Regions from separate parts of the Homo sapiens genome. Here all the other regions are linked to region 2. Evidence: promoter capture Hi-C in 16 types of primary human blood cells and fetal thymus (Javierre and others, 2016). All regions are on one chromosome and are shown on one strand. The core of a region is centred on a gene start or on the middle of the fragment in contact, and the rest is flanking DNA. Distances in the headings are between cores, read along the strand shown. Region 1 overlaps LOC101927243 (a long non-coding RNA gene). Region 2 holds the start of TMEM60 (transmembrane protein 60). Region 3 overlaps GSAP (gamma-secretase activating protein). Region 4 overlaps GSAP (gamma-secretase activating protein). Region 5 overlaps GSAP (gamma-secretase activating protein). Region 6 overlaps GSAP (gamma-secretase activating protein). Region 7 overlaps GSAP (gamma-secretase activating protein).

Region 1 (2,700 bases), core at 133-2,632, 370 kb before region 2:
GAAATATTTTCATTAAAATATACACATTGACTTCCTGAAATCCTTTGTGAATTTCATGAGTAGCACTTAGCCATTTTAAAAGAAATGTATGACAGATACTTGTGTGTGTGGCAGATTTTTAATGTCCAACTGCCATGTGTTCTGTACATAGATTTTTTTTCTCAAATTTCTAAACACAGTGGAAGCCACCAGAGAGAATATCTGAAGCAATTCATTAAAATCTTGGCAGCCAGACCCCAGCTCCCACTTTCCCTGAAAGCTCCCTTTAATGAAGCTGAACGCTGTCCCAGCAATTCCCTCCACAGAAGACCTACTGTCACCACCTCTGGAGGGGCAATTCCTGGAGGAACCAAGTCAGCCAATCGAAGGTCCTGAATAAGCAAAAACTAAGTAAATAAATTACCATCTCGAAAGTGATGGGTTAGTGTGCTCTTTTGAATGCCCCGTAGGAAAATAAATTTGATTAAAATTAAATATTTTGTTGTACGATGTAATGCTCAAATTCAGGGGATTCTGGTGTCCCTCTGGACAGTGTCAGTTGTTGGGGGAGGAGGGAAATGCCAGCTGTCCTATGGCTGTTGAATCACAAGAGCTTATTTTCTTTGATAGGATTTTACTTTGAAAATATGTTGTAGGTGATCATAAATGAAGGATGTGCCGCCTTGCTAAGAACATTACATTTTTCTGCATTTTTCACCTGTTTGTGGCTTTGCATGTTGTTTTTTTCACTGCTGTTCCCTCCAGCCGGTTTTGATAATGAGGGCTGGGAAATTTTTCCTGATTCCAGTGCTCCACAGGAGCCTCTTGCCTCCCTCCGGTCTCCTCCCAGTGGCTATCTCTTTGGTGTCTTTGTTCTCAACACAAAATAGTCCCTGCTAGCATTGACCAAACTTCTGTGAATACTCACTGACTCATTAGCTACTTAAAGATCTTCGTTAAGCAGCTTCTTTTTTAAAATTTCAATCGTGGTTTATTTTTTATTTATCTTAGCATGAATCACAATATACAAAAGAAACCTGACTTAACATGGGTTATAAAAGAATTACCATATCATAGAAAATTGTTTTGAAAAAGATTTTATTGTGCAAAAAAAAAAAAAAGCAAACCTCTGAACCTTTCTTTACATGAATGCTAATAATACAGACGACTTTAGAGAAATTGAAACTAGCCCAGCCTGTTCGAAAGGGGATCCAAGCAGTTCATCACCAAAACGGCCACAGCTCAGCTCTCTTAAAACCCGTTATTTTCTGAAAATAATCTGTAGAAGTATTGAGATTCGTAGGCAATATTTTAAACATTTTATGAAGGATTCCATTAGTTTCCCTCTTGTGTTTAATTTTTTGAACTATGTTTAATTTAAACCCTCTTCATTCTCAAAAATCTACATCTTTCCCAGATTTTAAAAGAGGCTACCTCCTCCACCACAGAATTTTTCTTTAAGAAGACAATCAGCACGTCTATCTTTTTAGTCAAGATCCATCTCTGGATCTGCTAGAAGAGAGACTATGGAGACAAATTAGAGTCCATGGGAAAGCGATATCTCTGTCCCCTGCGTGGAAGCAGCATGCCATCAGAATGCTTAGTATTAATCGCAAACTGAACCCTGTAATGTGTCACCTTTCTCTTCAGGGCCTCCAGCTTTCCAAATGTCCATCTAATCTGTGTCCACCCCCGGGAGCAGATAGTAGTTTCCCGTGTTCTTTGATAGTATCAAAACTTTGTCACTTAAGAAAAAGCCTGATATTTACACCAGGTTGGCCAAATGCTCAGCTGAGTCTCAAGAGGGTAAAGAATTTCAGGCATTTAAAAAAAAAGAAAAGAAAAAGGCCAGCAATGGAGTCATGTATTTAGTACTTGACTCAGAGTTAACAGGCCTGGATTCTTGAGGCAGCCCTGGCATGAACAGGCTCTGTGACCTTAGGCAAGTTGCTTAACTTTTCTGAACTTGGTTTTCTCATTTGTAAAATAAAAGAAGTTGAACTATGATCCCCAAGGCCCCATTTGCTTAACAGTGCTGATTCTTAACTACAGTAGCAATAAGATCATCAAAAAAATTCACTTCCCAATCCCTGTCACCAAGTTCATATGCAGAGAGACAGAGGGGCTTAGGAGAAAACTGCAACCTAGTAACCAAGGAAACATGAAAATTTTAACAGTGAAAGACATCCTGTGTAGCAAATTCTACAAAGTGAACCAGGAAAATAGAATTAAGGATGAAGAAATAGGCTGGGCGCGGTGGCTCACGCCTGTAATCCCAGCGCTTTGGGAGGCTGAGACAGGTGGCTCACAAGGTCAAGAGATCGAGACCATCCTGGCCAACATGGTGAAACTCTGTCTCTACTAAAAATACAAAAATTAGCTGGGTGTTTTGGCACGTGCCTGTAGTCCCAGCTACTTGGGAGGCTGGGGCAGGAGAATTGCTTGAACCCGGGAGACGGAGGTTACAGTGAGCCAAGATTGTGCAACTGCACTCCAGCCTGGTGACAGAGCAAGACTCCGTCTCAAAAAATAAAACAGGAAATAGTAGGGAGAGTTTTCAGAAACTCTCCTCTACTCCCCAACTTACCCTCAAAAATCAAATTGTAGGTTTCCCCACAGATCTCTGGAAAAAAATGCTTGATAGTTCTCTGGGGTAAACCCTTCTATTTGATCTAAGATTCAGGTAGTGTTAACTTTTGCTTCAAATGCCTTAGTCAAGAT
Region 2 (2,700 bases), core at 50-2,549:
AATAACCATGGATGGATTTCATCCCGTAAATTGCACAATCCCCACCTCCAATCTATCAGGCCGTTTTTGTGAACCTCTGAAAAACGGTTTATGATTATACACTTGCTTAAACCTAACTGTTCCATCTGCTATCGGATAAGACAAGCTTCATTTTTTTCTTACATTTGGCTGTACTTACCACAGGTGCTTTAGGGCTGGAGGTGAAAGGATGCAAGTAACAATCTTATTGTGCCTACAAGATTTATAATGTGGGATGCAACAAAATTCTGTTATGTTCTTGCACGGAAATACCCTCAATGGGGAAGCACTGCTGATACTTAAATGACGATTGAAGGATTGTACGCCTGTATGCTGAGCTACAACGATGACATACGATCCCAGTTTTACATTTACGTCTTCATCAATTTGAGCAGTCGTTATGTTTCCTACTATTCTCTCCACAAGAAAGGGGGAGGTGCGTACTCCAAAAATGTGCTCAACTAAAATGTTTCCCATTTAAGGTGGTTATTTCTGGCACTAGGAAGACAGTTAAATATTTGTTAATGATTCCTTACTCATTTTTAAAACCTTCGGAGTTACCCCTGTATGGACATATATAGAGCCCCACCCACATAGCCCACGGCTGGGTATCAGCCCCCATTTCCCTTCTCTCGCCACTGCCAGTAGTCTACCAAGTGAACCTGCCTCATCCCAAAGATAATTTTGCTTCATGAGCCCACATATTTATTCTTCTTCATAATGAGTCGCTTTTGAAAAGCCCGTGCAGCAACAGCCTTGGCCAAAGGAACAGCGTTCTGCTTACAACTTAGCTCATCTGGGGGCCTATTTGCCCCTGGAACTTCAGGACGCTCCTAAACTATACTTGCCCTTCTGCAAACACCGACAGTCGGCTCGCGGCGCCCCACCGGGACGCTCCCCTTTCATGGGCTGTAAGCCCAGCACATGCTGGAGTTTAACACGGTTCCTGCTGGATGCGCACAGAAGCCCTGGAGCCAAGCAGGCGTGTGCGCGTTTGGGGCTGGCTGTGTGATGGGTTGAGGGTCGGCCGCACAGCCCACGGAAGCATCAGGAGACCAGCGCCGGCGTACGGTGCGGGCTAGGGCAGAGCCCCAGACTCACCTGGCAGCGCTGCCGGCCGGAAAGCGGAGAGGGACGCGAAGATCAGCAAATTCGCCAGTTTGGATCCTTGTCCTTTTCCGCCCTTTTCCCCCCATTAAATCCAGAACCCGTCACATGATAATTAAGAAAAAACTTCAGTTCCGCCTCCTCAAACGACTGCGGTAGAGGATCTCTCAGTTCTACCTCAGTGCCGCGCCCACATCCGGGGCTGGTTCTCACCGCCCCTGAGCCTACCCTATAGGTAGAGAGGACGCCAATCTGGATTCAGAGGTCCCTTTTCCGCGGTAATTGGACCATTTGTCCGCCAGTGCAAACCAACCGACCTTTCCTTACTTTCGGGTTCGACAGAAAGGCGGCAATAAAAAGACCCATTGGTCCCGCCTCTCTACTGTCACGGGTTAGTAGGGAAGTCAGTCCAAGATCAGCCTGGAGTTTCCGTGCTCCCATTGGGCCCACAGATGTTAATCAGAGCAGCCGGCGCTCAGCTCCGCCCTCTCGGGACGCCCCGCCCCTCCTCCCATCCTCCCTGCCCGCGCGCAGTGACTGCAGGCTCCGGCGCAAAATCCTGCGGGAGAGGGGGTGGGGCAACCCTCTGGAGGCAGCGCGCCCGCGGGCAGCCTCGTTGTGGCTCCTTGGGCTCTGTTGGCGGCGGCGCTAGCTTCGGAGTCTCCCGCGCGCACCTCAGCCGCCTCCTAGCGGCGCGGCGCTCGCTCCTACGGTAAGAGCGGCATCACCTCCGCGCTCGGGTGGGCAGTGTGGAGGTCGTCGAGTTCTGACAGAATTTCGAGGATGGATCGGGACGAGGGAGGAGAGCGGTCGTCGGGATGGAGGTGGGGGCTCCGGGGCCAACGCGTCGCCCTCCGTCGCCGGCGACTTTCCCGGCAGTCTCCCGTACCTGAGGGCCGGGGTCAGCCGCGACCCCTTCTCATCAGTCGGCCGGTGGCGGAGGCTCAGCCGCCTTCCTCCCGAGCTCGCGCGGTCCTCAAGTCTTGATGGTGACGGGCCGAAGCCCAGCGCGCCACCCGCCCCTCGGGCCCCGCTTCCAGGCCCCTGTCCTTTGCTTCCTTCCCTTGGCGCTGTGCTGAGGGGTCGTCGGGTCCTGGAAGGGCGTTCAGGGGTCTCGGGTGGCTAGCCCGGCTGGCGGGGAGATGTCAGCTAGCGGCCGGAGGAGCGGGCTCGGGAGGGGGCGGCGGCTCGCGCGCTGGAGGAGGTGGAAGGAGGGTCGCTGCCCTGCCCCCTCTGAGCAGGCGGCAGTCGAGTTTTCTGATCCCAACACGGCGGAGTGGGTGCTTAAGGCATGGGCCTTAAGGGATAGTTCCCGTCTGGAAACAATACCGTGCTCCATCAGCATGCTTCAGCTTTTCTTATTTTTATCTGCCCAGTGTTGACAGCCAGCATTCTGGTATTGTCCTTCGAGTCATGGCTTTCTAACTCAGCACCTCCTTGTGTAACTTCAGGGATCATTCTGTCACTAATCTGTCACCCTTCTTATTTTTAGCGTGGCGAAAACAAGGAACTGCCTTATACTAACCTGGGCAGTGCAGAATCTGGAACAATTTATTAATCTCAGTGTGTACTTTA
Region 3 (2,700 bases), core at 192-2,691, 410 kb before region 2:
ACTCAGGAGGTTGAAGTGGGAGGATCACTTGAACCCAGGAGGTTGAAGTTGGAGTGAGCCAAGATCATGCCACTATACTCTAGCCTGGGTGATAGAGCAAGACTCTGTCTAAAAATAAAGTAAAATAAACAGTAAATGTTAAGGTTGAAGCTAATTCTAGGGATGGTACTTCCTATTTGGAATATTTGATTCTGAAACCAATCAGAAACAATGCAAACAACATTTATACAAAATGTTCTATTTCACACACACACACACACACACACACAGAGGTCGATATAGTCGTTGTGCAACTAAACCTAGTATATAATTTGAGAGCCAAGTAAATATATTCCCCACGACAGCTTCCAAAGTTCCACATCCAAGAGACAAAGCACAACATAACCAGAATTTGTCAAGAAAGAACAGTGAGTCATGGTGCCACATGAGTTGAGAATTTACAAGTCTGAAAGCACAGAACGACTGTCACCAGGAAGAAAAGGCTTAAATCCACCCCATTCCTCCTTCTCTGTGCTCTCCCATATAAGCCCACCACTATGTGTCTGTTTGCAGGACAAAGTAGGCTGCCAGCAACACAAGTCCTGACCCCGTCGGCTGTGATAATGAGGAAAAACTGGTCACAGGATGACTCAAAAGGGCAATTGTAAACCAGCCATTTCATTTTGCAGCATGAAAGACCCGTGAATTTTGTTCTTTTCCTCACCCAAAACTTGAAAGTAATATAAAAGGGCACAACTTTTATGTCCCAATCTCCGAGTCATTAGTCTCACTAAACTTAGGACAATTTTTTATTATTTCCTAGTGTCCTACCTTTGCATAATATCAGATTAAAAATAGTACTAGTCAAATTTTGGAACATTTATAGTTGAGTTCCCTTTTAGAAATGAAAAGCAAAACATATGCTTCACAGCAATAAAGTCAAAATTATAAAATAGCAATGCAGAATTCAGCTACAAAAATAATACAGAACTAATTGTCTCATAATTTGTAAAATGTCACACATCAAACAAGATACTTTGTATACCAGAGTTGAGGAAAAGCAGAGATGAATGACACCACATATAGGATGGGAGAACAAATGTTCAGTGCCTCAAAATATGGAGATATCTGCTGCTATGGAAGATGGTATGGCCTCCCGGTCTACAGAGGTGGCCAGGGCATGCCTGCTTAGGAATGTGACATGGACTGAGGTGCTGAAGAGGTGTAACTGCCAACCTCTAAACCTCTGCCTGGTCTTCCTGTGACAATCAGGGAGAATGTTATTTTAAAAGTCCCGTTCAGGTAGGTGTTGTTTTTCTTTCTATTATAAGGTGGTCCTAGAGTAAGGCCTGGAAGCCAAAAGTAGACAGGATTCAGACACAGCTCTGCAAAAGCACTCAAGGTTATTTTTTTTGTATTGTAAGTAGGATTCTATGCAGATTATATTTACTTTGAAAAATTTATCTTCACAAATATGGAGCTAGACTTAGAATGAATATTGGTCTTTGGAGGTCTGTAGTCTCGGTGTGTAGAGGGTGTGTAATTACCCACTGGAACTATCTTGAAGACACACCTTGTGCTGGAAGGAAACACTCAAAGGGTCCCGGATTGGGATCCAAGCCCCACCTGCCACTCCTGCTGAAGCTCCTCTGTGTAGGTTGTCAAGACTACACATGCAGAGTTAGGGAAATGTGCTGCTGGAGATCACCATGGATGTTTTTGTAAGAAAAAGGAAATTGATCCCAGGGCAAGACCAACTCAATGGACAGTAGATGTCATTTCTCTAGAGGCAGGAGGGAGAAGGCGGGGATTTGCCACTGGGGTTTAGAGGAGTTTCTCTCTCCAGAGGCAGAGACATGGGGGCAGAAGGCAGGGCTAGGGACTAAGATGGGTCCACAGAATTAGTACAAGTTTTACTTTATTTGGGTTGGGACTTTTCCTTTGGCCTATAGATGCTGTCCTGTTCCATGTACTTCTAACTTTTTTTTTTTTTTTTTGAGATGGAGTTTCGCTCTGTTGCCCAGGCTGGAGTGCAATGGCACGATCTTGGCTCACTGCAACCTCTGCCTCCCAGGTTCAAGCAATTCTCCCACCTCAGCCACCCGAGTAGATGGGATTACAGTAGCATACCACCACGCCCAGCTAATTTTTATATTTTTAGTAGAGATGGGGTTTTGCCACGTTGGCCAGGCTGGTCTCAAACTCCTGAGCTCAGGCAATCTGCCCTCCTTGGCCTCCTAAAGTGCTAGGATTATAGGCATGAGCCACTGCGCCCAGCCACTTTTAACTTTTTAAAACTGAGTTCACATAACATAAAATTTACCATTTTAACCACTTTAATATATACAATTTTTGGTAGATTTTAATATATTCGCAATGTATACAACCACTTGCTTTTAAAAACTTTTCCCCTTTCTATGCTCCAATTCCCTTTAGTTACCCCAATCCTTCAGTCATGTCTCTACCATCTATATGGCCCTAACAAGATGCTAAGGAAGCCAAAGAACAGACCAGAAAAGAGAAGTGTGCTCTGTCCCCAGCCTCCCCACATTGATGACAGTGTAGACGGAGTAGCTTCCTGAGGGTAGGAGAATGCAGCTTGGGAGCTTCAGGCCAGGCCATATCTGGAATTGAGGAGCGACCACAGTGCTGTCAGGAGTGGCGGGGAAATGCGCAGCTGAAAGGACTGGCTGACAGGGGAGGACCCTGGGAAGAGAGAGA
Region 4 (2,915 bases), core at 56-2,555, 480 kb before region 2:
TTAACTTTAACCAATTCATGTTACAAGTCTCTGACAATCGTAACTCAAACAGTCATCATTAGTCCAATAGGCCTGGAAAGCAAGCACACTTACGCATGTGCATATAGAAACACCCTGAATTCATACAAGCATGCACATGCACACACACACATGATCCAGTGTCACCTCCCCCCTCTATTTCCATGTCACATGATGGAAATAAACATTCAAGAGAAAAGGAGAGAGCATGGAATACTATGCAGCCATAAAAGAGGATGAGTTCATGTCCTTTGCAGGGACATGGATGAAGCTTGAAACCATCATTCTCAGCAAACTATCCCAAGGACAGAAAACCAAACACCACACATTCTCACTCATAGGTGGGAATTGAACAATGAGAACACTTGGACAAGGGTTGGGGGGGAACATCACACACTGGGGCCTGTCGTGGGGTTGGGGGCTGGGGGAGGGATAGCATTAGGAGAAATACCTAATGTAAATGACGAGTTAATAGGTGCAGCAAACCAACATGGCACATGTATACCTATGTTACAAACCTGCACGTTGTGCACATGTACCCTAGAACTTAAAGTATAATTAAAAAAATGAGAAACACCTTTTCCTTACCTGACCCACAGACACAAGCCATAAGTCTACTTATAATAATTCTCGATCACTATGGATAACATCTTTGTTTTCCCTCCTTATCACTGTGAAGGAATGTGAGTTGGGTAGAAAGTGGATTTTTATGATCTCCAGGCGTAACAATGTCCCCAGTAAGTCAGTTTCATTTATTTTCAAAAGAAGCTTGAATATCTGTAATGAACAAATCTAAAACTGTCAATCCATTTCCCTACCAAATTTTTTGTGTTAACAACAAACAATTAAGAATTTAAGCCACAAAGGTAGTTTTCCTGTAATCCTTCAATCTTTCTAGGGTGTACCTCATAACTCATATTCCATTGGGATAATTTTAAACCATCCATTCCCCTCACAAATGGTCCCTTTCAACTCCTTTTGTACTGCCATACAGACAGACATTAAATAAGGTGGATGAAGAATGAAGGATTCCAAACCGTATCAGATGTGTCATAAATGCAGAGCAGCATATGCTGTAGGGATTCTTTAGGCCCATAAATAGCCCATGTTTCAACATCAACTAATTCAACTGGAATATAAAATTCAAGAAGCAGCATGGATTTTGGAGCCAAACTGCCTGGATTTGAATATCAGCTCTGTCACTTAATAGCTATGTGACTTTAGGCAAATTACTCAACCTTTCTGGCCTCAGTTTCACCATCTATAAAATGGGAATAATATTAAGTGGAACCACATGAAAGTGCCATTTTTGTTGGCCAAAAAATGGTTGGGCACTGACAATTTAATGTGGTCCAACTTAAGTTTCTACCAGTTAAAATTTTATGAAAATTAAGTGTACTAATTTGTGTGTACTTTCAACAGTACGTGGCACAAAATGAGTATCATATATATGTTGGCCTAAAATGAAGCAATGAACAAATGATGAATGGATGAATATATATGAATGAAGTAACTAAATATCAGCTGATATGTAGTTACAGCTATCATAAAGTTTAACACTCATTAGAACTTTATATGCAATAATAAATCCATTCATGTTTAGGCAACTAATCTTCAAAAGCACCAAGAACACACAATGGGGAAAGGATCGTGTATCTCTGATAAATGGTGTTGGAAAAACTGTCCATAGGCAAAAGAATGAAATGGGACCCTTATCTTTACCATAAACAAAATTCAACTCAAAATGCATTAGAAAGTTAAACATAAGACCTGAAACTGAAAAACCCCTAAAAGAAACATAGAGGGAAAGCTTCTTGACATTGGTCTTGGCAATGATTCCTTGAATATGACATCCAAAGCACAAACAATGAAAACAAAAATATGTAAGAGGGACTACACCCAACAAAAAAGCTTCTGCACAGCAAAGGAAACGATCCTGGGCCTGTTGTGGGGTGGGGGGAGGGGGAAGGGATAGCATTAGGAGATGTACCTAATGTAAATGATGAGTTAATGGATGCAGCATACCAACATGGCACATGTATACATATGTAACAAACCTGTGTGTTGTGCACATGTACCCTAAAACTTAAAGTATAATAATAAAAATATATATGTATAAAAGGAAACGATCCAAAGAGTAAAGGCAAAACCTACAGGATGACAAAAAGTGTTTGCAAACCATATATCTAACAAAGAGTTAATATCTAAAACATATAAGGAACTCAAACCTCAATAGCAAGAAAACAACCAGATTAAAAAATGGGCAAGGGACTTGAATAGACATTTCTCCAAAGATTGCAGACAAATGGCCAACACTTATGTGAAAATATGCTCGACATCACTAATCATCAGGGAAATGCACATCAAAACCACAATGAGGTATCACCTCACATCTCTCAGGTTGGCTACTATCAAAAAACCACAATTTAAGTGTTATCAAGAATGTGGAGAAATTGGAATCCTTATACACTGTTGGTGGGAATGTAAAGTGGTACAGCCACTGTGGCGAACAGTATGGAGGTTCCTCAAAAAATTTAAAAAAAAGAATCAATATATGATCCAGTAATCTCATTTCTGGATAAATATCTGTAAGAACTGAAATCAGGATCTTGAAGAGATATGTATATACTCCCATGTTTATCACAACATATTCACAATAGCCAAGATAGGGAAACAACCTAAATGTCTACTGACAGATGAAGAAAGTGTAGAATTTACAATGGAGTATTACTCAGCCTTAAAAAATGAAATCCTGCTCCATGTGACAACATGGATGAAACTTCAGGTCATTACACTAAGTGAAACAAGCCAGTCACAGGACAGATACTGCATGATTCCACTTACATGCAGTATCTAAAGTAGTCAAACTCATAGACACAGAAGGTAGAACAGTGCTT
Region 5 (2,700 bases), core at 168-2,667, 400 kb before region 2:
GAAACAGAACCTCAGAGATCCGGGTGACTGTAACAAAAGATCTACCATTCTTGTAATCAGAGTCCATAAAAAGAAAAGAGAAACAGATTGGAACTTTAAGAAAAAATACTTCAAGAAATATTGGCTAATGACTAAAAATGTCCCAAATTTGGCAAGAGACTACAGATTCAATAAGCGGAGTAAACCCCAAACAGGCAAAATCCAAACAAATCCACACCAAGACACAGCACAATCAAACTTCAGAAAACTAAGGAGAAAGAAAAAAATTTTTTCAAAAACAGCAAAGAAAAAAGTGACATCTATATGGGGGGGAGAAAAATTCAAAAGACAGCAGATTTCTCATGAGAAACCAGAGAACCCAGAAGGAAGTGGCATGTTTTTCAAGAGAGGAACAAAAAGAACTATGAATCCTGAATTCTACACTTGGCAAAATTATCCTTCAGGAATGAAAGGAAAAAAACACATTCTCAGATGAAGAAAACTATGAAAATTTGTCATCGGCATAGCTACCCTAAAAAAAATGGTTAAAAAAAGTTCTTGAAAGAGAAAGGACATGATAAAAGAGGAACCTTAGAACATCAGAAAGAACCATGGAAAGAGCAAATATATAGGTAAACACAATAGACTTTCCTTCTCCTGTGTTTTCTAAATTATGTTTGACAATCAGGGCGAAAAGTATAACATTGCCTGATGAGGATCCTAAAGAATGTATAGGAAATATCGAAGACAATCAAAAACACAGAAAGGTAAAGAGACTCAAAAGGAGATAATAGTTCCACACTTCATTCGAACTGGTAAAATTTCAACACCAATAGATCTTGTAGAAATGGAATAACTCTTTCTCGATTGCAGTGGTAATTACAAGAATCTACACAAGTAATGAAATGGCATAGAACCATATGCACACATTCTACCGACATTAATTTATTGGTTTTAATATATTATCCTATAGTTACACAAGATTTAACAATTGAGAGAAACTGAGTGAAGAGTACACAGGACATTACTCTACTAGTTTTATCAAATTTAAAAAATAAAAACTTTTAGAGAAGGATGGGTAAGCATTAAGACTCAGACACTGTTATCCCATCCTGAAGCTCAATTACCAAGAGAAAGATTTTTTTTTTCTCTTGATGGCACCATCTTTCCTCATGGTGGCACCTTTCCAAGGAAAAATACAGTACTTGAAAAGAATCTTAGGCCGGGCACGGTGGCTCACACCTGTAATCTCAGCACTTTGGGGCTGAGGCAGGCAGATCACGAGGTCAAGAGATTGAGACCATCCTGGCCAACATGGGAAACCCCATCTCTACTAAAAAAAAAAAAAGAAAAAAGAAAAAAAAAATATATATATATACACACACACAGAAAAAAAAGATTAGCTGGGCGTGGTGGCACACACCTGTAGTTCCAGCTACTTGGGACGCTGAGGCAGGAGATTTGCTTGAACCCAGGAGGCGGAGGTTGCAGTGAGCTGAGATGGCGCCACTGCACTCCAGCCTGGCAATAGAGTGAGACTCTGTCTCAAAAAAAAAAAAAAAAAAAAAAAGAATTTTAAAGCCCATCTAGATTTGGTATACAAATCCATTCCTTCAATAAAACCATCAAAAGGTCCGTAAAAAAAAAAAAAAACATATGGGCTGTAAGGGTTGTGCCTACGTGGAGAAGAGATGGGAGAAGGGGAGGGTTTGTTTAGCGACTACGGTTCAGAAGAAAAATTTGCCTGTTTACAAAGCTAGTTTAAATTTCCTATTAATTTATCCTTTGGCCAATTTATTTTCTGGACTAACTTTCACATTTTGGAATTCAAAGCACCTTTGTCACTGGAAAATTTTTGAAAAACAGCCACTCTGGAGGGAACCTATCACTATCAATCCAGTGAAAAACATTCACTGTACTCCTACCACTCACAGGCAGTAAGCTAAAGGTAACGGGGATAAAACACATTGGTATGCAAAGTGCTCCTACTGTCAAGTGCTCACAGTCTTGGGAGAGAGGAATATGACCACAAAAGATAGCAGCAGTCACCACAACTGGATTGACAGAAGACAGACTATGATGTCTCCTCTCAATCCACCTTTTTAGAATACATGCCACACAGAAATTAAGCTAACAATTGCACTGAAAACTTGAGATTTTATTCTCTTTCCCTAGACTGTGTATTGTGAGTTTATGTTGATCATCACTGTGTCTCCAGCACCTGACAGGGAAAACACTCAATGCTTATTTGTTGGATCAGTGAATGGGTGAATGAATTAATGAATAAAGGTGAAAGGGGTGGAAGAAGGGAAGAGAGAATTAACCAAGCAGCGTATTGGAACCCTGAAGAGTAAGGTGACCTGTAAAAAATTTGTAATGGATAAAGGACATTTAAGTTCAAAGATGTCTAATATTCAATTCTAAATTGTTTTTACATAGGTACAAAATTACTCCCTCCCATTTGCTCCCAGAATTAGACAAAGCCTGTCACATCAACCAACGCCTTATGTGAGTAATTTGGGGAAAAAAATAAGGAAAGGGGTTCCTTGTCTGGATCACTAAGAAATAATGAGAAACAAGACATGTGAAGGTTAAGCAGAAGCAGAAAGAGTCAGAGGTCATTATAGGATGACCTGGGAGTACACAAATCTCAAGAAGGACATTGGACCTCCTACTTTCTTAGAGGATATTGAATAATTTGTTTGAGCCAATTTTACTTAA
Region 6 (2,821 bases), core at 18-2,517, 430 kb before region 2:
GGCTCATGTGATCTTCCTACTTTGGCCTCCCAAAGAGCTGGGACTACAGGAATTTTTTTTAACTTCTATTTTCAGTTCAGGGGTACATGTGAAGGTTTGTTATATAGGTAAACTCATATCACAGGGGTTTATTTTTACAGATAATTTCATCACCCAGCTATTAAGCCTGGTACTCAATAGTTACTTTTTCTGCTCCGCTCCCTCCTCCCACCCTCCACTCTCAAGAAGACCCCAGTGTCTGTTGTTCCCTTGTGTTCAGGAGTTCTCATCATTTAGCTCCTACCTGTAAGTGAGAACACTAGGTATTTCGTTTTACTGTTCCTGCGTTAGTTTGCTAAGGATAATAGCCTCTATCTCCATCCATGTTCCCACAAAAGACATGATCTCATTCTTTTTTATAGCTGCACAGTATTCCACGGTATGTATGTACCACATTTTCTTTATCCAATCTGTCACTGATGGGCATTTAGGTTGATTCCATGTCTTTGCTAACATGAATCACGCTGCAATTGACATTTGCATACGTATATCTTTATGGTAGAATGATTTTTATTCCTCTAAGTATATACCCAGTAATCAGATTGCTGGGTCCAATAGTAGTTCTGCTGTTAGCCTTTGAGTAATCACCATACTGCTTTCCACAATGGTAGAACTAACTTACACTCTCATCAACAGTGTATAAGTCTTCCCTTTTCTCTGCAACCTTGCCAGCAACTGTGGGTTTTTTTTTTTTTTTTTTTTTTTTACTTTTAATAATAGCCATTCTGACTGGTATGAGATGGTATCTCATTGTAACCTCTATCTGCATTTCTCTAATCCTCAGTGATACTGAGTTTTTCACATGCTTGCTGGCCACATGTCTTCTTTTGTAAAGTATCTGTTCATGTCCTTTGCCCACTTTTTAATGGAGTTGTTTTTGTCTTATAAATTTAAGTACCTTGTAGATGCTGGATACTAGGCCTTTGTCAGATGCATAGTTTGCAAATATTTTCTCCCAATTCTGTAGGTCGTTTGGTTTACTCTGTTAGTTTCTTTTGCTGTGCAGAAGCTCTTAAGTTTAATTCGATCCCATTTGTCAATTTTTGCTTCTTTTGTGATTACTTTTGATGTCTTTGTTATGAAATATTTGCCCATTCCTATGACTAGGATGGTATTGCCTACGTTTTCTTTCAGAATTTTTATAAATTTTGGGTTTTACATTTAAGTCTTTAATGCATCTTGAGTTGATTTTTGTCTATGTTGTAAGGAAGGGTTCCAGTTTCAATTTCTATATATGGCTAGCCAGTTATCCCAACACCATTTATTGAGTAGGGAGTCTTTTCCCCATTGCTTTTGTCAGCTTTGCTGAAGATCAGGTAGTCATAGGTGTGCAGCCTTATTTCTGGGTTCGCTATTCCATTCTATTGGTCTATGTGCCTGTTTTGGTAACAGTACCATACTGTTTTGGTTACTGTAGCCCTGTAGTATAGTTTGAAGTTGGGTAACATGATATCTCCAGCTTTGTTCTTTTTGCTTAGGTGTACCTTGGCTACTCAGGCTTTTTTGGTTCCATATGAATTTTAAGACAGTTTTTTCTAGTTCTGTGAAGAATATTGATAGTTTGATAGGAATAGCATTGAATCTGTACACTGCTTTGGGCAGTATGGTCATTTTAATGATATTGATTCTTCCTATCCATGAGCATGTTTTTCCATTTCTTTGTAACTTCTGATTTCTTTGAGCAGTGTTTTGTAATTCTCATTGTAGACATCTTTAACTTCCCCTCCCTGGTTAGCTGTATTCCTAGGTATTTTATTCTTTCTGTGGCAATTGTGAATGGGATTGCCTTTCTGATTTGGCTCTTGACTTTGCTCTTGTTGGTGTAAAGAAATGCTAGAGATTTCTGTACATTGATTTTGTATCCTGAAAGTTTGCTGAAGTTGTTTATCAGTTGAAGGAGCTTTTGGGCTGAGACTATGGGGTTTTCTACAGAATCATGCCGTATGCAAACAGGGATAGCCTGACTTCCTCTCTTCCTATTTGGGATGCTCTCTTGCCTGATTGCTCTAGCTATGACTTCCAATACCATGTTGGATAGGAGTGGTGAGAGAGGACATCCTTGTCCTGTGCCAGTTTTCAAGGGAAATGCTACCAGCTTTTGCCCATTCAGTATGATGTTGGCTATGGGTTTGTCATAGATGGCTATTATTTTGAGGTTTTCCTTCAATACCTAGTTTATTCAGAGTTTTTAACATGAAGGGGTATTGAGTTTTATCGAAAGCCTTTTCTGCATCTATTGAGATAAATGTGGTTTTTGTCTTTAATTCTGTTTATGTGATGAATCACATTTATTGAATTGCATATGTTGAGCCAACCTTGCCTCCCAGGGATGAAACCTACTTGACTGTGGTAGATTAGCTTTTTGACATGTTATTGGATTTGGTTTCCATGTATTTTGATGATTTTTGCATCAGCGTTCATCAAGGATATTGGCCTGAAGTTTTCTTTTGTTCTTATGTCTCTGACAGGTTTTCAGTATCAGGATGATGCTGGCCTCATAGAATGAACTGGGGAAGAGTCCATCCTCCTCAATTTTTTGAAAGGGTTTCAGTAGGAATGGTACCAGCTTTTCTTTGTACGTCTGGTAGAATTCAGTTGTGAATCCATCAGATCCTGAGCTTTTTTCGGTTGGTAGGTTATATATTACTGATTCAATTTGGGAGCTTATTATTGGTCTGTTCAGGGAATCAATTTCTTCCTGGTTCAGCCTTGGGAGGCTGTTTGTGTCCAGGAATTTATCTGTCTCTTCTAGGTTTTCTAGTTTGTGTACTTAGAGGTGTTC
Region 7 (2,917 bases), core at 354-2,853, 450 kb before region 2:
ATTATTAGTCCTTTAATATCTGTTTTTCTCATTCTCTTATTCAAACCTTGTATTTAGTTTCTCAATTCATCCAAAACCACATCCAGGCCATCACCAATCATTCTATACGACAAATGCTCCTTCTAACAACCCCACAATATCACCCCTTACCACAAAATCTTCCTTCAGCTTAATCTATACCACTCTAGGTTCCTATGCTGCCCCTAATCCTGCTCGAAGCAGCCCTGAGAAACATTGCCCATTATTGCTCCATATCACCCCCAAAAAATTTTTGCTGCCCCAACACTTCAATGCTATTTTATGTTATTTTTCTTATTAATATAAGAAGACAGGACTATCAGGCCTCTGAGCCCAAGCTAAGCCATCATATCCCCTGTGACCTGCACGTATACATCCAGATGGCCTGAAGGAAGTGAAGAATCACAAAAGAAGTGAAAATGGCCGGTTTCTGCCTTAACTGATGACATTCCACCATTGCGACTTGTTTCTGCCCCATCTTAACTGAGCGATTAACCTTGTGAAATTCCTTCTCCTGGCTCAGAAGCTCCCCCACTGAGCAACTTGTGACACACGCCCCTGCTCATAAGAGAAAACCCCCTTTAACTGTAATTTTTGACTACCCACCCAAATCCTATAAAACGGCCCCACCCCATCTCCCTTCGCTGACTCTTTTCGGACTCAGCCCGCCTGCACCCAGGTGATTAAAAAGCTCTATTGCTCACACAAAGCCTGTTTGGTGGTCTCTTCACCTGGACGCACGTGACATCCCTTTCATTGAATATCAATTTATCACAAAATAAGAATCAAATGCTATAAAAATCGTCATAGCCTTTCACCCAATGTTACCTCTGGGCTCTTAACCTTAGGGGAATAGATCAAAAGAAAAACTGTATGTATAAAAATGTTCACTTTGGGAGGCCGAGGTGGGCAGATCACCTGAGGTCAGGAGTTCGAGACCAGCCTGACCAACATGGTGAAACCCCGCCTCTACTAAAAATACAAAAATTATCCGGGCATAGTGGTGCACACCTGTAATCCCAGCTACTCAGGAGGCTGAGGCAGGAGAATCGCTTGAACCCAGGAGGCAGAGGCTGCAGTGAGCCGAGATCACACCAAAGCACTCCAGCCTGGGCAACGAGAATGAGACTCCATCTCAAAAAAAAAAAAAAAAAAAAGAAAGAAAGAAAAAAAATTCTCTGCAACATTATTTCTAACAGCAAAAAGAAATTTTTTTAATGGGGGCTAGGGACAAACTAAATGTCCAAAAAACAGAAGAACAATTGAGTTAAGGCACTGCAACCCAGCAGGGCATGGTGGCTCATACCTGTAATACCAACACTTTGGGAGGCCGAGTTAGGAGGATGGCTTTAGCTTAGGAGTTTGAAACTAGCTTGGGCAACATAGTAAGACCCTGTCTCTACCAAAAAAAAAAAAAAAAGTTTTAATTAACCAGACATGATGACATGTACGTGTAGTCCTAGCTACTCAGGAGGCTGAAGCAAGAGGACTGCTTGAGCCCAGGAGTTCAAGGTTGCAGTGAGCTGTGACTATGTCATTGCACTCCAGCCTGGGCAACAGAGTGAGACCCTACCTCAAAAAAAGAAAAAAAAAAAAGTATGACATACTTATTGTGGTGTTTTGTATGTATTAATTTTCATCCACCCACTCCTGGTTCACAATGCCCATAGCCTTTGTTACAGCCTGATGTTATAATATCGGGTATTTTAGGCTTCGGGACCAGGACTAGTCTCGGGAAACTCTCTCTCCTGCCTTCCTTTCACCTGCCCTAAGGCATGACTCTCCCCTCCACCACTCCCCACCACCACCCCCCGCCCCACCCCCCTGCCTTTCTGATTGCAGATCTTAAGACCCTCCCCTAAGAGGGTCCTGCCTCATACCCTGGAGGGAAGGAATGCTTCCATAAAAATCCCAGAAGACTGGGTTGGGGAAGTTTCCCCATAGCTGAACAGGTGGAGGTTCCTGGAGGGTGGTGAATCGAAAGAGGGCATGGAAGCTCCACGTCCCTTCCCCCATACCCCACTCTATGCGTCTCTTCATCTGTTTCCTTTGCAATATCCTTTATAATAGGCCAGTAAACATGTTTCCCTGAGTTCTGTGAGCCACCCCAGCAAATTAATCAAACCTAAAGAGGTACCGTGGGAACCCCAACTTAAAGACAGTTGGTCAGAAGTTCCAGAGGTCTGGACTTGCACCTGTTATCTGGGGGTGTGGAGGGTAGTCTTGGGGACTATGTCCCCCAACCTGTGGGATCTGACACTGTCTCTAGGTAGATAGTGTCAGAACTGAATTAAAGGACACCCAGCTGGTGTCTGCTGCTTGGTACATGAAGAATTCCCACACATTTGGTAACAGAAGTGTTTTTCTGTGTTGATGATTATTGTTGCAGTGTGAGAGAGAGGGAAAACACAGTTTGGACAGAGTTTTTCCTCACACACTTACTAATTTAAAATAATAAAAAGAAAAAGACACTGCCATCCAGTGGAATCCTATGGAGTCATTAGAAATTATAAGTTTACATAGCAACATGAAAAAATGTTTACAATAACATAATTTCTAAAATTTATCTAATATCTGTAGATCACAATTACTACTGGGTAAAATATGCATACCTATAACAAAGGCCAAGAGGAAATGGGGGAGAAGAGACAGTTGGTACATTAGGAACTGTAGAATTATGGATGATATTTCTTTCAAAATTTTTCTTCACTGGTTTGTTGTCCATTAAAAAATTATGGTCCATCATGGTGGTTCACACCTATAATCCTAGCACTCTAAGAGGCTAAGGCAGGAGGATGACTTGAGGCCAGTAGATTGAGATCATCCTGGCAACATAGCAAGACCCCATCTCTACAAAAAAAAAAAAAAATAAGAAAAAATAAGAAACTGGATGGGTATG

The links. The method cuts DNA at HindIII sites, captures the fragments that hold promoters and counts their contacts. A CHiCAGO score of 5 or more calls a contact.
Region 1: a fragment that was not itself captured here is called in contact with the fragment with the promoter of TMEM60 in region 2 in 5 of 17 cell types (activated CD4 T cells, neutrophils, monocytes and 2 more); the score reaches 10.0 in activated CD4 T cells.
Region 3: a fragment that was not itself captured here is called in contact with the fragment with the promoter of TMEM60 in region 2 in 6 of 17 cell types (naive B cells, total B cells, non-activated CD4 T cells and 3 more); the score reaches 9.3 in naive B cells.
Region 4: a contact is called between a fragment that was not itself captured here and the fragment with the promoter of TMEM60 in region 2, in 3 of 17 cell types (total B cells, monocytes and naive B cells). The highest score is 6.7, in total B cells.
Region 5: a contact is called between a fragment that was not itself captured here and the fragment with the promoter of TMEM60 in region 2, in 6 of 17 cell types (neutrophils, monocytes, naive B cells and 3 more). The highest score is 17.0, in neutrophils.
Region 6: a contact is called between a fragment that was not itself captured here and the fragment with the promoter of TMEM60 in region 2, in 6 of 17 cell types (total B cells, neutrophils, total CD4 T cells and 3 more). The highest score is 10.4, in total B cells.
Region 7: a contact is called between a fragment that was not itself captured here and the fragment with the promoter of TMEM60 in region 2, in 3 of 17 cell types (non-activated CD4 T cells, neutrophils and activated CD4 T cells). The highest score is 7.4, in non-activated CD4 T cells.

What each region holds. Positions count from the first base shown.
Region 1 is chr7:77,425,032-77,427,731 of GRCh38, forward strand. LOC101927243 (a long non-coding RNA gene) reads left to right here. Exons shown (of 5, transcript NR_110073.1): 5 at 180-413. Among named protein-coding and RNA genes, the nearest start is that of GSAP, 10 kb to the left of the region's middle. RefSeq lists enhancers at 45-743, 744-1,441, 2,141-2,700. The HindIII fragment of the contact is 3,122 bases long and covers 1-2,700 here.
Region 2 is chr7:77,797,135-77,799,834 of GRCh38, forward strand. TMEM60 (transmembrane protein 60) reads right to left here and starts at 1,300. Exons shown (of 2, transcript NM_032936.4): 1 at 1,120-1,300. PHTF2 (putative homeodomain transcription factor 2) reads left to right here and starts at 1,639. Exons shown (of 19, transcript NM_001395272.1): 1 at 1,639-1,837. RefSeq lists an enhancer at 1,060-1,169 and a silencer at 1,580-1,719. The HindIII fragment of the contact is 8,213 bases long and covers 144-2,700 here.
Region 3 is chr7:77,383,076-77,385,775 of GRCh38, forward strand. The region is part of intron 6 of GSAP (gamma-secretase activating protein); the gene reads right to left. Among named protein-coding and RNA genes, the nearest start is that of GSAP, 32 kb to the right of the region's middle. The HindIII fragment of the contact is 4,120 bases long and covers 1-2,700 here.
Region 4 is chr7:77,316,950-77,319,864 of GRCh38, forward strand. All of the region lies in intron 26 of GSAP (gamma-secretase activating protein), which reads right to left. Among named protein-coding and RNA genes, the nearest start is that of CCDC146-AS1, 70 kb to the left of the region's middle. The HindIII fragment of the contact is 1,042 bases long and covers 785-1,826 here.
Region 5 is chr7:77,401,068-77,403,767 of GRCh38, forward strand. The region is part of intron 3 of GSAP (gamma-secretase activating protein); the gene reads right to left. Among named protein-coding and RNA genes, the nearest start is that of GSAP, 14 kb to the right of the region's middle. The HindIII fragment of the contact is 4,490 bases long and covers 1-2,700 here.
Region 6 is chr7:77,365,178-77,367,998 of GRCh38, forward strand. All of the region lies in intron 12 of GSAP (gamma-secretase activating protein), which reads right to left. Among named protein-coding and RNA genes, the nearest start is that of GSAP, 50 kb to the right of the region's middle. The HindIII fragment of the contact is 6,987 bases long and covers 1-2,821 here.
Region 7 is chr7:77,345,116-77,348,032 of GRCh38, forward strand. All of the region lies in intron 19 of GSAP (gamma-secretase activating protein), which reads right to left. Among named protein-coding and RNA genes, the nearest start is that of GSAP, 70 kb to the right of the region's middle. The HindIII fragment of the contact is 5,489 bases long and covers 1-2,917 here.